2 separate regions of the Homo sapiens genome follow, and region 2 is linked to region 1. The links are contacts of gene promoters, found by promoter capture Hi-C in human tissues and cell types (Jung and others, 2019). All regions are on one chromosome and are shown on one strand. The core of a region is centred on a gene start or on the middle of the fragment in contact, and the rest is flanking DNA. Distances in the headings are between cores, read along the strand shown.

What was found. Contacts are between HindIII fragments. The study calls those that stand out against the background at their distance.
Region 2: the fragment with the promoter of SPTBN2 here is called in contact with the fragment with the promoter of RBM4B in region 1 in 5 of the 25 tissues and cell types used here (IMR-90 fibroblasts, aorta, mesenchymal stem cells and 2 more).

The regions. Positions count from the first base shown.
Region 1 is chr11:66,672,610-66,680,006 of GRCh38, reverse strand. RBM4B (RNA binding motif protein 4B) reads left to right here and starts at 2,120. Exons shown (of 4, transcript NM_031492.4): 1 at 2,120-2,243; 2 at 2,916-3,339. The coding sequence starts at 2,928. RefSeq lists silencers at 1,918-2,197, 2,398-2,507. The HindIII fragment of the contact is 6,531 bases long and covers 1-4,012 here.
Region 2 is chr11:66,726,953-66,734,589 of GRCh38, reverse strand. It overlaps SPTBN2 (spectrin beta, non-erythrocytic 2), which reads left to right and starts at 5,374. Exons shown (of 38, transcript NM_006946.4): 1 at 5,374-5,849. The HindIII fragment of the contact is 42,487 bases long and covers 1-7,637 here.

The DNA.
Region 1 (7,397 bases), core at 871-3,370:
TTAGAAGAAATCAACTGTAAAAAGACATTTGTAACAATCCAGGAGAAATTTGGGCATAAACATTAGATAATATTAACATAGGATAGTGCTATTTTAAATTAGCAGCACATATAAGCCGGGTGCAGTGGCTCACACCTGAATCCCAGCATTTTGTGAGACTGTGGTGGAAACATCTTGAGCCCAGAAGTTTGAGACCAGCCTGGGCAACACAGTGAGACCCCCATCTCTACAAAAAAAAAAAATTTAAATTAGCTGGATGGGGTGGCCCACACCTGTGGTCCCAGCTGCTCCAGAGGCTAAGATAGGAAGATCACTTGCGCCTGCGAGGTCGAGGCTACAGTGAGCCATAATGGTGCCACTGCACTCTAGCCTGGACAACAAAGTGACACCCTGACTCAAAAATAATAGTAATAATAGTTAAGGGCCGGGCGAGGTGGCTCACGCCTGTAATCCCAACACTTTGGGATGCCAAGGCCAGCGGATCGCTTGAGGTCGGGAGTTCGACACCAGCCTGGCCAACACGGTGAAACCCTGTCTCTACTAAAAATACAAAAATTAGCTGGGGGGTAGCGCACGCCTGTAGTCCCAGCTACTCGGGAGGCTGAGGCAGGAAAATGGCTTGAACGCAGGAGGTGGAGGTTGCAGTAAGCCGAGATCGCACCACTGCCCTCCAGCCTGGGCGACACAGTGAGACTCTGTCTTTAAAAAATTAAACAAAAAATAAAAATAAAATAAAATTGGAAGGACAGTGCCTCTTCTGAAATGGCTGAGAAACAAAAAGAACTCAGGTAAAGAACATATCCAAGTAGCTGGGGTGGAAGAGGGCAGCCTGGGGAATGTGTCCCAGATGGTATCAGAGAAGCCATTATGGAGCCACTAAAATGAGGAATGGTGGCTGACAACCTCCCTGGCGGGCTCTACTAGGAGATAAACCCAATCCATCAATCTCCATAAAAGGCTACTCTTTGCTGGAAGGTGACAGTGGGGAATCAGCCTAAACTTCTTTTTTTTTTTTTTTTGAGACCGAGTCTTGCTCTGTCACCCAGGCTGGAGTGCAGTGACGCCATCTCGGCTCACTGCAACCTCCGCCTCCCGGGTTCCAACGATTCTCCTGCCTCAGCCTCCCGAGTAGTTGGGATTACAGGCGCCCGCCACCACGCCGGGCTATTTTTTGTATTTTTAGTAGACACGGGGTTTCACCATGTTGGCCAAGCTGGTGTCGAACTCCTGAACTCGTGATCCGCCCGCCTTGGCCTCCCAAAGTGCTGGGATTATAGGCGTGAGCCGCCGCACCTGGCACGCCTAAGCTTGTTTTTACCGCCAGGAGGTGCCCTTGGACCACAGCTGAATTTTGAATGCTAGACAGTCGGGAAACTCAGTTGCCTAGACTTCCAGCTTGGTGTGTACGAGGAGACCCTGTCCCACCCAGAACTAGGGACCTCGCTGGGCCTCTCCACCAAGTATTCCTCTGGCGTGCTCACCACAGACCAGGACTGTGATGGACACACAATGAGTGAGAGAGAATCAGACCACGGATACTCACGAGCAAACAAAACATGACTAAGCGTAGCCTGGGTAGCAATGCCTCTTAGGCCTGTCCCAGTTCTGCCAGGTTATCTTTCTGCCCCTTGGTTCTCAGTTTCCGTAGCAATAAATAACACCTCTGCAATGACAAACTTTAAAATAATGTTTAAAGCGCTACAAAACAATGACTAGTTTTGCTTAAAATGTGGCGCACCTGTATTTTTGAAATGTTGCCCCAAGCTGCCACAGAAGCCGGCCAGCCCGCTACAAAAGCCCCTTTTTAGGGCCCTCGGGGAGATTCCTCTGTCATTAGCTCCCCGCCCCCCTCAAAGGGCCCAAGAGCAGGACCCATTGTGGTGAGCGACTCCCCAAGGCCTCCGCTTTTCTAGGCAGTGGTTGCGTTCAGAGCCCCTCTGACGCAGCAGTGGCGACCCTTTCCAGGGTGGTGACTGGCTGGCTGGGGCTGGGGGTGGGCTGACCTCCGCGGCGCCGCGCCACCACCAACAGGCCCCGCCCCCGTGCTGCGTGGTCATTTGTATGCAGCCTCGGGATTGGTCACTCGGCTCCCGCGAGGGGAAGGGGAGGGAAGCAGCGCGCACTCGCGCGTGCGTGAGCTGGCGCGCGAGAAAGGGCCCGGTCGCGTCCAGGCTCGAGCGGCCGTCGCCATTTTGTAAGGTTCTCTCTGACGTGGGAGCCGCCGTCGCTGCCGCCACCCGGAGGTGCGAGGGGGTCGTGTGTGTGTGATGTGGGGAGCTCGGGGGCGGGTCGGGCCGGGCCTCCGGCAGACTGCACGGCCCGGATTTGGGTTTCTCATTTTGCAGCGGGAGGTCTGGGAAGACAACGGGAGGAGGCGGGGCCGGGTCTCCGGAAGGAGGCGGGGCAGGGGTCGGGTCGAGTCTTTGTTGGGGCGAAGAAGCTGGAGGGTGGGCCGCTGGGGGCGAGGTGGTTGGTCCCCGGTTTGGGGGAAAGGGGACTTTTTTCTTTTTAGAGTATCTTGAAAGGCGCTAGTGCGCGCAGGAGAGGTACACAGATTTCCCTCCAAAACCTTGTTACCAGGCGCACTGCGATTGATGCCCCTTGCCTTTGCTTGGGCTTTTCTCTTCCCTCATTTTAAGACATGAAGCAGCTAATTCTGGTATTTCATTGCGCTCCACTTCACGGAGATGATAGACTGGGCTATGCATGCTGACCCTCGACCTCCTGTTTGCATGTCACGCATAGCTCGCACTTCTCGAGAACAAACCGCCCTTCTTCTATTGAGGAAGAATAATGAATGTCTGTACGAGGGTCTTGAAGGTGCAAGAACTTTGGAGGATTAGACGAAAATGCTGCAGTGCACCGAAATTTCCCACCACACCCCTGACTTTTGAAGTCTTGTGTTTCTCTCCCAGGCTCTTGTCAGGATGGTGAAGCTGTTCATCGGAAACCTTCCCCGGGAGGCTACAGAGCAGGAGATTCGCTCACTCTTCGAGCAGTATGGGAAGGTGCTGGAATGTGACATCATTAAGAATTACGGCTTTGTGCACATAGAAGACAAGACGGCAGCTGAGGATGCCATACGCAACCTGCACCATTACAAGCTTCATGGGGTGAACATCAACGTGGAAGCCAGCAAGAATAAGAGCAAAGCTTCAACCAAGTTACACGTGGGTAACATCAGCCCCACTTGTACCAACCAAGAGCTTCGAGCCAAGTTTGAGGAGTATGGTCCGGTCATCGAATGTGACATCGTGAAAGATTATGCCTTCGTACACATGGAGCGGGCAGAGGATGCAGTGGAGGCCATCAGGGGCCTTGACAACACAGAGTTTCAAGGTGAACTGCTCTGGGCCTGGGTAGTAGCGCCGAGTGGGGTCTAGCTCAAAACAGGCAAGAACACAAGACTATAGAACTTGCTGGGTGGTCTCTTCCATTCTGTTTTAGCTGGAAATAATAGATTATGTTTACCGCTCTTAAGCATAATTTACCCCTGGGGAAGCAAACACTTCCCCTTTTCAGGTTTGCTAAGATGTTGCTCACCGACTGCATAGAATCACAAACTGTGGGTTACTTTACCCTGCGGGATTCTTGCATTGATTCGAGTGCTGTTGGAAGTGTAATCTGCTTGGGGAAACGAGTACCTCATGAGAGAAGGGAGGATAAAGGTCCGTGGCTTACCTGCTTCTTTGGTGATGATCAGGAAGCCTTATATTTGAGGGTTTAAGTGCTTAAGATTTATATTCTTTACTGCTTTGGGTGGATACTGGTGGGAAAGAAGAAAAAAGACATCTAGAGGAAGCCCTATATTATAAATCTGGGTGGCAAGTCTGGATCTGCGGGAGTATCTTTTTGTTGATCAAAGTTGTGCAGTCTCTTCAAGCAGAGTCAAAAAAACATGCCATGGAGTGTTCTGCTCCACCTGTTCATTTCACCCTCAGAAAAGGAAATTTCTAAATATATCAGACTCAATGGGAATGATGGTCCCGCTTCTGAAGAAATTTCAGTACAAGCATCGTAGAGCATATCATACTATTTATACCGATAATAAAGGTACATATGTTGTCATTAATACCACAAGAGGTTGTCAGAAGACTCTAGAACTGTGCTAATATGGTAACCACATGCGGCTTAGTAAATTGAAATTAACAGATTAGATAAAATTTAAAATTCAGTTTTTCAAGTGTATACCAGACACGTTTCAAGCACTCAGTAGTCATGAGGCCTGTGGCTACCGTATTAATAGAGACACAGAACATTTCCATCATCATAGAACATTCTTTTGGATAGCACTGTTCTACAAGTGTTTTGTTAACAGTATCGTCTTGGACCTCATGTTCATAGCCACTTTTGTGGTTCCTAAGTCAACACCTTTTTTGCCCTGAGTGTCATTAAAGGGGTTGTTAAGAAGTACTTTTGGGTCTTCTATTAAAACTAAAAAACAAAATGAGAAAAATAATGGGAGAAGAGGAAAAGTTGACCAGAGAAGGGTAAGAAAGTTTGCATAGTGGAGATGGGTAGAGGAGCACCATCAAGTATCTCCAGCTTCAGCCAGTGATGCCTTGGCCTTTAGCTGCTCTTTAAAGCATAGGGCAAAGGTTGCAGATACTTCCTACCATTAACTAGTGTGTGACCTTGGACAAGTGTTTTAACATTTCTCTGCTTCATTTTCCTCACTAAGATTGTCCCCACTTATGGAGTTAATGATCCCTACTGTACCTCCCTCACAGGATTGTAGTGGGGCTAGAATGAAGAAATCGATGTGAAAGTGTTTTGATAGTAAAAGCTCTTTATGATGACAGGTGATTGCTCTTTGCAACCATGAGTGTTTCTATTCTGGTTAGAAAATTATTGAAAGTGTGATAGCGAAGCTTTCCTTATTGGTTTGCTTTTCTTACATTTGTTTTTCTTTTTCTTATTTTGGAATGTTGTTGCATTTTCAGCTTTTAAAAGTATCTTAATTATTTTCATTTGATGGGGGAAATCATCATGATGGACAGTGGAGACTGGGGAAGGAGGGTTTTCTCCTGACAGGTAATGAGCAAAATGTAAAAGAATGTAAAGTTGGGTACAAACTGCAGAGGTATTCTAGTAATGTCATACAGAATGCCCTTACCTTTTAAATATATTTAATACAGGCAGGGTGCGGTGCCTCACACCTGTAATCCCACCACTTTGGGAGGCCAAGGCGGGTGGATCACCTGAGGTCAGGAGTTCGAGACCAGCCTGGCCAACATGGTGAAATCCCATCTCTACTAAAAATACAAGAAAACTAGCAAGGCGTGGTAGTGTGTGCCTGTAATCCCAGCTACTCGGGAGGCTGAGACAGGAGAATCGCTTGAACCTGGGAGGTAGAGGTTGCAGTAAACCGAGATTGTGCCACTGTATTCCAGTCTGGGCAACAGCGAGACTCCTTCTCAAAAAAGAAAAAAAAAAAACCATATATATATTTAATACAACTGAATAAAAGGAAAAGGACAGGCCGGGTGCTGTGGCTCACGCCTGTAATCCCAGCACTTTGGGAGGCCAAGGCGGGGGGATCACGAGGTCAGAGATTGAGTCCATCCTGCTCAACATGGTGAAACCCCGTCTCTACTAAAAATACAAAAAAAAAATTAGCCGGCCATGGTGGCAGGCGCCTTGTAGTCCCCACTACTCGGGAAGCTGAGGCAGGAGAATAGCGTGAACCCAGGAGGCAGAGCTTGCAGTGAGCCGAGATCATGCCACTGTACTCCAGCCTGGGGGACAGAGCAAGACTCCATCTCAAAAAAAAAAAAGAAAGAAAAGAAAAAGAAAAGCTACCTGAAGTTAATAAAAAAAAAAAAAAAAGAAAAAAAAATCAGTTAATTGGGGGGAGTTGGCTTAGGATGAATATGTGTTTTAATAAGGCAGGTATAATTACTTTAGGATGTATCTGAATAATGCAGTGGATCCATAAGATTTTTAAAAACATCACTTCCTTAGAAAGTGCAAACACTAAAATGAATTGGAAAAGAAAAATCCTGTATTTGGTTTTCATGTTCTTAACTTGGCTCCTCTGGAGATAGCACTCTCCTCCTAGTTATAGAGACGTTTTTATAACTAGCTCTGGTTTTTTTTCTCCCAGATGACAAGAGCAAGCTTAGCACTGGATAGTAAGTTGTAGTTTTACAGAAAATACAGTCTGGATACCAGTTTGACACGTTTCAATTTAAGTTATTTTCAGTTGTCTACTAATGAAGGTGGCCTCTTAAAAGGGCCACTTGAGCCCGGGTGAGGTGGCTCACTCCTGTAATCCCAGCACTCTGGAAGGCCGAGGCGGGGGTGGATCACCTAAGGTCAGGAGTTCAAGACTAGCCTGGTCAACATGGTGAAACCCTGTCTCTACTAAAAATACAAAAATTAGCTAGGTATGGTGGCACACACCTGTAATCCCGGCTACTCAGGAGGCTGAGGCAGGAGAATCACTTGAACCCAGAGGCGGAGGTTGCAGTGAGTCAAGACCGTGCCACCGCACTCTAGCCTGGGCAGCAGAGCAAGACTTAGTCTCAAAAATGAACCAACAAAAAAGTGCCACTTGAACATCTTTTGAACCTTTATTTCTATATGTTAATGGCTGCCATTGAGGCTTTTTGCATTGTATGACTTCTAAAAGGAAGTAGCGGAATCTGAGTTTACTTTACTCTTTCAGGATCTGTTTCCTTTTTACAGCCAGCAGTGAACTCAACTTATTTCCTTAGACACATAGTTTGTATTGGAAGACCTAAAGAAGCTATTCCCAAATAACAATCAGGCAGCTTAATTGGGAAGAATGTGTGAGAGTTCAGGTGTCTTTTTTTTTTTTCCCTATATGTAAACAAGCATTAAGTCAGAATACTACTCTGTATTAGCTACATCCCCAGTCTTTTCTGGATCATGGCACTTGATAGGCGCTCAGAAATTAAGACCCCAAGTTTCCCACTTCTCAGCATTTTAATGCTCTTTTCTGTTACAGCTTTCAAAATAAAACACTTATAGGGCTGGTTTTCTGGAAAATGTTGGCAACAAACTTCAGTAACTTTTGGAAGTCCCAGGAAATTTTAAGCTTTTGGCCTACTTTGTCCAAGTGTAGTAGAGTAGAAGAATTAATCTTTCATTTTTCTTTGCCCTGGTTCCTTAAGGTATAATAATAGAGAGGCATAGTCTTTTTCAATTACTATAAAAACTTTAGGGTATTTAAATTTAAAGGCTAGGCTGGATGTGGTGGCTCATGCCTGTAATCCCAGCCCTTTGGGAGGCCGAGACAGGCGGATCACCTGAGGTCAGGAGTTCGAGACCAGCCTGGCCAACATGGTGAAACCTCGTCTCCACTAAAAATAGAAGAAATTAGCCAGGTGTGGTAGCGTGCGCCTGCAGTCCCAGCTACTCGGGAGGCTGAG
Region 2 (7,637 bases), core at 4,125-6,624, 51 kb before region 1:
AGTAACATCTAAATTGATACCTGAAGGATGAGTAAACATTGGGTGAATGGAAGAGGAAGAGCGATTCCAACCAGAAGGAAGAGCATGCTCAAAATCCCATAAACACTGGGGAAACTCTAAGAGGTTCCTTATGGTGAGGACACAGAGTGCCAAGTGCAAGTGGTGAGAGACCAGGCTGGAGAGGTAAGCAGGGTGTGCAAACTTGGTTAAGAACTTTGGACTTTGTCCCAAGGGCAGTGGGGAGCCACTGAAGGGTTTCCAGAAGAGGAATGATCTGTCTGATGTATTAAAGAGACTACTCTAGCCGCACAGTAGATAAGATGGCCCAGGAAGAGCGCAGAGAATAAGAAAAGGCCTAGACAAAACACCACCATCAATAACAAAATTAAGCGACAAGCAGAAAAGGAACTCACAAAAGAAACAGAGAAGGACCACAAGGGTTGAAGGAAAACCAAGAGAATGGCAACCCCATAACAAAAGAAGAAAATTTCAAGAAGCAGGGCATAATTAGAGTCAATTGCTGCCAAGAGGAGAAGTAAGACAGCAATTGGAAACTAACAGCTGGATTTTGCAATAGGATAATTTTTTTTTTTTTTTTTTTTTTTGAGACGGAGTCTCTCTCTGTCGCCCAGGCCAGACTGCGGACTGCAGTGGCGCAATCTCGGCTCACTGCAAGCTCTGCTTCCCGGGTTCACGCCATTCTCCTGCCTCAGCCTCCCGAGTAGCTGGGACTACAGGCGCCTGCCACCGCGCCCGGCTAATTTTTTGTATTTTTAGTAGAGACGGGGTTTCACCTTGTTAGCCAGGTGCAATAGGATTATTGACAACCTTGTTGAAAGCAGCTTTAGAGTGGAAGTTCTGTTGCATTGGATTAAGTCAATTGTATCAATGCTCATCTATCCCCTTCAATTACCATCTATTTCTACACTGATGTATTCCAAATGGGTATCTTAAGTCCAGACCTCCCCTTTAAAGTCCACGCCCATATACAATTGACTACTCAATATCTCCACTTGATTGGTTCAAAGATACCTCAAACCTAGGTTCCAAAACCAACAATCTCTCCACCCAAACCTGGTTTTCCTGGAGTATTCCTCATCTCAGCAAATAGTAGCTCCATTATTCCAGTTGCACAACTCATCCTTGACTAACCCTTTTTCCTCACCACCACCCCTGTATCTATCCCATCACCACATCTGGTTAATTCTTTCAACCTGTGCACTCCATCTCCACTGCCAGCAACTGAGTTCAAGCTACCATCTTCTCTGTCACCCTACCCACAGTGGTAGCCTCCTAACTGGTTTCTCACACATCTTTGCACCCCTCCATAGCAACTGGAGTAACCTATTCCCCCCATAGCAGCTACAGTGACCTTTTTAAAATACAAAGTTGATCCTATCACTTCCTTATTTCAACCTTTCAATAGTCTCTCAGGGCTCTAAAGGTGAAAATCAAAATTCTTTAAATAATGACATAAAAAGCTCTGCATGATCTAGCCCTTGCCTATCTCCCCAGTCGCAATTCTCTACACATTCCCTCTTCCCCTCTGTTTTCCCTGCACCCTGGTCTTTTCTCCATTTCTTTTGTATTGTTTTTTTTTTTTTTTTTGGTTGGTTGGTTTTTTGAAAAAGAGTCTCACTCTGTCCCCCAGGCTGGAGTGCAGTGGCACAATCTCAGCTCACTGTAGCCTCCGTCTCCTGGGCTCAAGAGATTGTCCTGCCTCAGCCTCCCGAGTAGCTGGGATTACAGGCACTTGCCACCACGCCCGGCTAATTCTTGTATTTTTAGTAGAGATGAGGTTTCACCATGTTGGCCAGGCTAGTCTCGAACTCCTGACCTCAGGTGATCCACCTGCCTCAGCCTCCCAAAGTGCTGGGATTACAGGCGTGAGCCACCGCGCGCAGCCTCTTTTCTCCATTTTTTTTTTTTTTTTTTTTTGAGAGACAGAGTCTTGCTCTGTTGCCCAGGCTGGAGTGTAGTGGAATGATCTCAGCTCACTGCAACCTCTGCCTCCCGGGTTCAAGCAATTCTCCTGCCTCAGCCTCCCGAGTAGCTGGGATTACAGGCGCATGCCACCACGCCCAGCTAATTTTTTTGTATTTTTAGTAGAAAAGGGGTTTCACTGTGTTAGCCAGGATGGTCTCAATCTCCTGACCTTGTGATCCGCTTACTTTGGCCTCCCAAAGTGCTGGGATTACAAAGTCGTGAGCCACTGCACCCGGCCTCTTTTCTCCATTTCCTATGTACACCATGTGTCCTGCAACATCAGGCCTGTTAGCCATATGCTCTGTGGCTAAGAACATGGGTTCAAGGGTCAGATTGGGTTAAAATCCCAGCTCTACCCTTGCCTGGTTTGATGACCCTGAGTAAGGTACTTAATCTCTCAATGTCTCCATTTCCTCATCTGTGAAATGGGGTTAATACTTACCTCTTGGAGTTGTTATAAAGGATTAAATGAAATGTTATGTGTAAAGTATTAGAAATACAGTTCCACGTTAATGTTAGTAACAGCTATTATTATTCCCCACTCTGTCTGGTTAATGCTTCTCATATTTCAGATCTCAGCTCAGGTGATCTGAGGTTATGACTCTGTTCAGTTCTCTCTTAACATCCTGAACTTTTCATTCATAACACTCATTATACTTTGTGGTTATATATCTGATGGGTTATTTTATTAATGTCTGTCAATCCCACCACAGGCTCTTCCAAGAGAAAACAGACAGTATCCATTTTACTCATCATTATATCCCCAGATCCCAGCACAGTGCCTGGTATATAATTAGCCATATAGTTTTTGCATAAATATTTGATTGAGCAGGGGCGAGGAAGTGAAGCCAATGAGTGCAAATGACTCAGGAAGACTGTGAACATAAAGAGCAAGGGGAATGCATGGAGGGAAGTCGGGGCTTCTTGATTATTTTTTAAGCTGGCAAATGCTTGAGCATGTTTAAATGCTGATGGGAAGGAACCAGCTGAGAGACAGCAGTGAGGGCCGTGAGGCTGCAGAAGGGGATGAGACTTAGCATAGGAGCCAGAAGAATCCATCTTAGGTGAAAAGAGGGACACCTCTTCCCTGGTATTGAAACAAGAACTGAGAATTCGGCTATGTATGTATGTTTGGTGGGCAGAGCCAAAACCTTTCCATGAATCTTGGTAATGTAAGCAGCAAATGTGGATTCACTGAGAAGCTCAACAAACTTGGTGGATATCATTCCATTCGCTTTTGCAACTCAAATAAGAAGGAACCAGATATTTTCTTCATCATTGACTGTACTGGTTCACTACAGAGCAAAATAACAAGTTTCCAAAGCAACCCAGTCACAGAGCTGAGATAGGTGATCTCAGTGTTCTCTTTATTCAATGTGCTTCCTCTCCAAATCGGGAAACAGTATGGGAAATAATACGGTAAAATCATAACGGCTGATACTGATTAAGTGCTTACTATGTGCTGCATATAATTCATTTACCTGCAATAATTCATTTGATGTTCCCCACATTATGGTGCCATTTTACATGTAAGGAAACTGAATCCTAGGGAGGTAACTTGCCCAAGGTCACATAGTCAGTGGGTGGCAGAACTATGTTTTAAACCCAAGGAGTCTGACTCCAAAATCAATGCTTTTAACCATTCTGCTATACTCCCTGTCTAGCAGAGAGGAAAGAACATATTAGGATTCAGAAGACCTGGAGTTTCTACCATGAACTAATTCTGTGAACTTGTACATTCACTTAGGTGTCTGAACATCAGTCTGTTCATCAATAGAATAAGAATGAGAATGTTTATCTTACAAGGCTTCTTGAAGGATTATGAAATGCTGAAAATAGGAAATTATAAAAGATATTATTTTGCTAATCATAAGACTTAATACCCTTGACTTCTAATTGGGTCACGATATTATAGGCTGTCATTGAGACCCTTAGTTCCCGTAACCAGTACAGCAGCAGCAGCTTGGTGGTTCCAGTTCCTTTGGCAGGGCAGCTGATTCTCTAATTTTTTTTTTTTTTTTTGGAGATGGAGTCTCGTTCTTGTTGCCCAGGCTGAAGTGCAGTGGCACAATCTCAGCTCACTGCAACCTCTGCCTCCCGGGTTCAAGCGATTCTCCTGCCTCAGCCTCCTGAGTAGCTGGGATTTCATGCCCACCACCACGCCTGGCTAATTTGTGTATTTTTAGTAGAGAAGGGGTTTCACCATGTTGGCCAGGCTGGTCTTGAACTCCTGACCTCGCGATCCACCTGCCTCGGCCTCCCAAAGTGCTGGGATTACAAGGGTGAGCCACTGCGCCTGGCCATGGGCAGCTGATTCTCATCCCATCAGCTTTAATGTCCCTGACCAAGTGTCCCTGATGACCGTCATGCACAGGTTGGTGCCTCCTTCCCCCGAACCAACCAACACATAATCCTACCTCTGGGAAGAGTTGCAGTTTATGCCCTTGTTTCTTTAATGCCATTGCCTGAAAGAGTGGCTATTAAAAATAATAAATAGCCTCAGGCCTGGCACGGCAGCTCACGTCTGTAATCCCAGCACTTTGGGAGGCTGAGGCAGGCAGATCACCTGAGGTCAGGAGTTCAAGAACAGCCTGGCCAACATGGCAAAACTCTGACTCTACTAAAGATACAAAAATTAGTCGGGCATGGTGGCATGCACCTGTAATCCCAGCTACTCGGGAGGCTGAGGCAGGAAAATTGCTTGAACCCGGGAAGAGGAGGTTGCAGTGAGCCGAGATCAAGCCACTGTACTCCAGCCTGGGTGACAGAGCACGACTCCGTCTCAAAATAATAATAATAATAAATAGCCTCAAATGCAGCTAACTGTGAGGTACACACCAGAGAGCCAGTTCCAGTTTCGTGGTAGAAGCACAGATATCAGAGCTAGGAGAGAACTTCAAAGTAATCTTTCAATGGAACTCCCCAACCCTCCTCCCAACCCATTTTATAGACTAGGAAAACCAAGGCGAGGTAGATGACACCACTAGTTAGGGTTGTCAAAACCATATCTGGAAAGTACTTCAATTGCACATATTTGTTTCAGTATGCATACCTTTTCAGAAAGGAGCAAAATCCTAAATTACCCATAAATCTATTATAAAACCTTAAATCCAATAATTCACTCAAAGCCCATTCTTTGAGTGCCCTTACTTGACCATTTCAGGCATTCCCTGGATAGAAACGGGCCCTCATCTTCAGGGGCAGTACATAACCTAACGGCTCTGTACAAAGCTCACCCTGTTACCACTGGCTCATCTCTGAGCTGAGTTCTCTAATCTGGAAGAACAGCACCTACTTCTCAGAGCTGGAGTGGGGGTGGGAGTGTCACATGAGATGATGCGCTTTTAGCACCCACCTGGCACTCTGTGAGTTTGTCATGATTTGGGCATAATTCCTTCCTCTCCTAAGCAGGCAGCAGTTCACCTTGGTTAAGGACCTTGGACCTTAGACCACTCAGACGCTAACAAACCAAGGAGAAACCCAGCCGTGTCAGGCCTAGAAATGTCTGCCCCCACCCCCACCCCCCTCAAGACGGTGACTAGGCCGGAATTCTCCTGGTTGATAAATGAGAGGAGCTGAGAAGCGCTGAGATGCCTGTTTGGAGCATCTGATCTGTAGAAGACGAATCTTCACTGTGCCATGGAGATGTTCTGGGAGGGAGAGCCGGCCCAGCTGCCTGAAGGAGGACGCGAGAGCGAGGGGACGGGTGAGAGGAATGCTTAGCGGAGACGGACTGGAGGTGCCCGGAGAGGAAAGGGGAACGGAGGCTGGATCTCGGGAAACCTCGTCGGCAGTGTCATTAGAGGAAGGATCGCGTGTCTCGGGGATACGGATTTTGGAGGAAAAGCAGAATAGGGACAAAGGTGAGGTGTCCGAACCGGGGAGATCAAGACCTGTAAGCTGTGGTGGGGGACCCAGGGACCAGCGAGGACGGGAAGGCGGGGTTTTGGGGGGACCCCGCACGGAAGGTGGCTGGGGGTCGGCAGCCGGCCTCGGAGCTGCTGCCGCGTTCGCCCCGAGGCAGGTCAACTACCCCGGGCGGGGAGCGGCGGGGAGCACCGAGAGGGGCCTCGGTTGCCATGGCGCTGGGCGGGGAAGGGGCGACTCGGGCCCCGCCCAGAGCCCCGCGGGGCCGCCGGCTCCAGATGGTCCCGGGCCTCCCGCGGGAGCCGGCGGCCTGCGGCAGGGGGAGGCTATTGTCCTCCTTCCGCGGCGCCGCAGTCCCGCCGCTCGCGCCCGCGCGCCGCCGCCACGCGCCCCGCCGCCGCCCGCCCCGCGCGCCCCCCGCGCCGCCTGCGCCCCGTGACAGCGCCCGCCCGCCGCCCGCCGTGCGCCCGGCCGCTGCCTGCAACCGCCCGTCGCGGCCGGGCTGCAGGCGCGGCAACTACCGGTGCGCCCCCGCCCGCCGCGCCCCCGCCCGCCCGGCCGCGGCTCCGCGCCGAGGTAGGTGCCGGCGCCCCGCCCGCTTTGTCCCGGCCCGCGGGGCGGCGCGCTTTGTCCGGCCGCGTGCGGTCGGCGGGGTCGGGGTCGGGGTCGGGGTCGGGTCCCGGCGGCCGGGGTGAGCCGGGGCGGGAGCAGGCGGGGACGGGACGGAGAGGGTCCCGTGCCAGCCACACAGGTACCGGGATGAGGGCGGTGGGGGCCAAGGCCGAGGGGGGGGGACTCGGGCCTCTCTGGAGCCGGGAGAAGAGTCTGGAACAGTTAGGGCTGACGGACACGTTCGCGGCGAGGCTGGGAGCGGGTCTGACAGCGCCGGCCCCTCGCGTCGCCGGGGCTGCGGGGCGGACGGGCCGGCGCCGGGCCAGGTGCTGGGGGCGCGCTCGGCCGCCTCTGCCCGGCGGACTGCGGGAGCCGGGCTCCCTCCTCCCCGGAGCCGCGTGGGCTCCTCCTCGCCTCTTTGGCAGCTGGCTCCACGCGCTCCCTTCTGTTCCCCCACAGTGTGTGGGAGAGGGGCACGCGGTTGGCTGTGGTGGCCGGAACTGGCCCGGGGAGAAAGCAGACGCTTCGGGCGGCGGGGAAGCGGCCGCGTGCGGCGTTTCTGTGGCCAGGAAGCTGATAGGGCTGTGCGGTCCGCCCCGCACGGAACTACCCAGCAAGGCCTGCTCGCGGGGGTGTTCCGGCTCCGGTGCCACAGTCGTGATTTACCTTCCACTCGCTTGGAACTTTACCCCATTGACCCCAGGACATTGCATGCTTGTGTGAGGTGCAGGTTTGCCCCGGTCTTAACCTGCTACATGTCGTCTGCCCTCCCCCTCTCGGAGCAGCCACAGTTCCAACGCTGGAGAGCCCGGGGGTTTCAGGTATGGGCAGAGGTAGCAACAAACCAGTTTTCCTTGAAGGTGAAGAGGGGCAGAGTGAGTTCCAAATATGTGTCTTAGCTTGAGGTGTGGGGCAACCTCTTGGCTTATTCAGAAAGGCAAAGGATTGGCCGAGGAGAAGATAGGATGGAGTTTACATTCTTCCCTTAGAGAAATTGATGTGACCCCGGGTTGGGGAAGGGAGATAGCAAGGGAGTGAAGAATCTGAATATTTGAATAAATCTGCCATAACTGGAGGATTCTAGAAGAGAAAATAAAATTTCAGTCCCCCTCTTCAGCCCAGTTCCTAACTTCCTCCGAGGGAATTGATCAGGAACACAGTCTGAGAGGTGG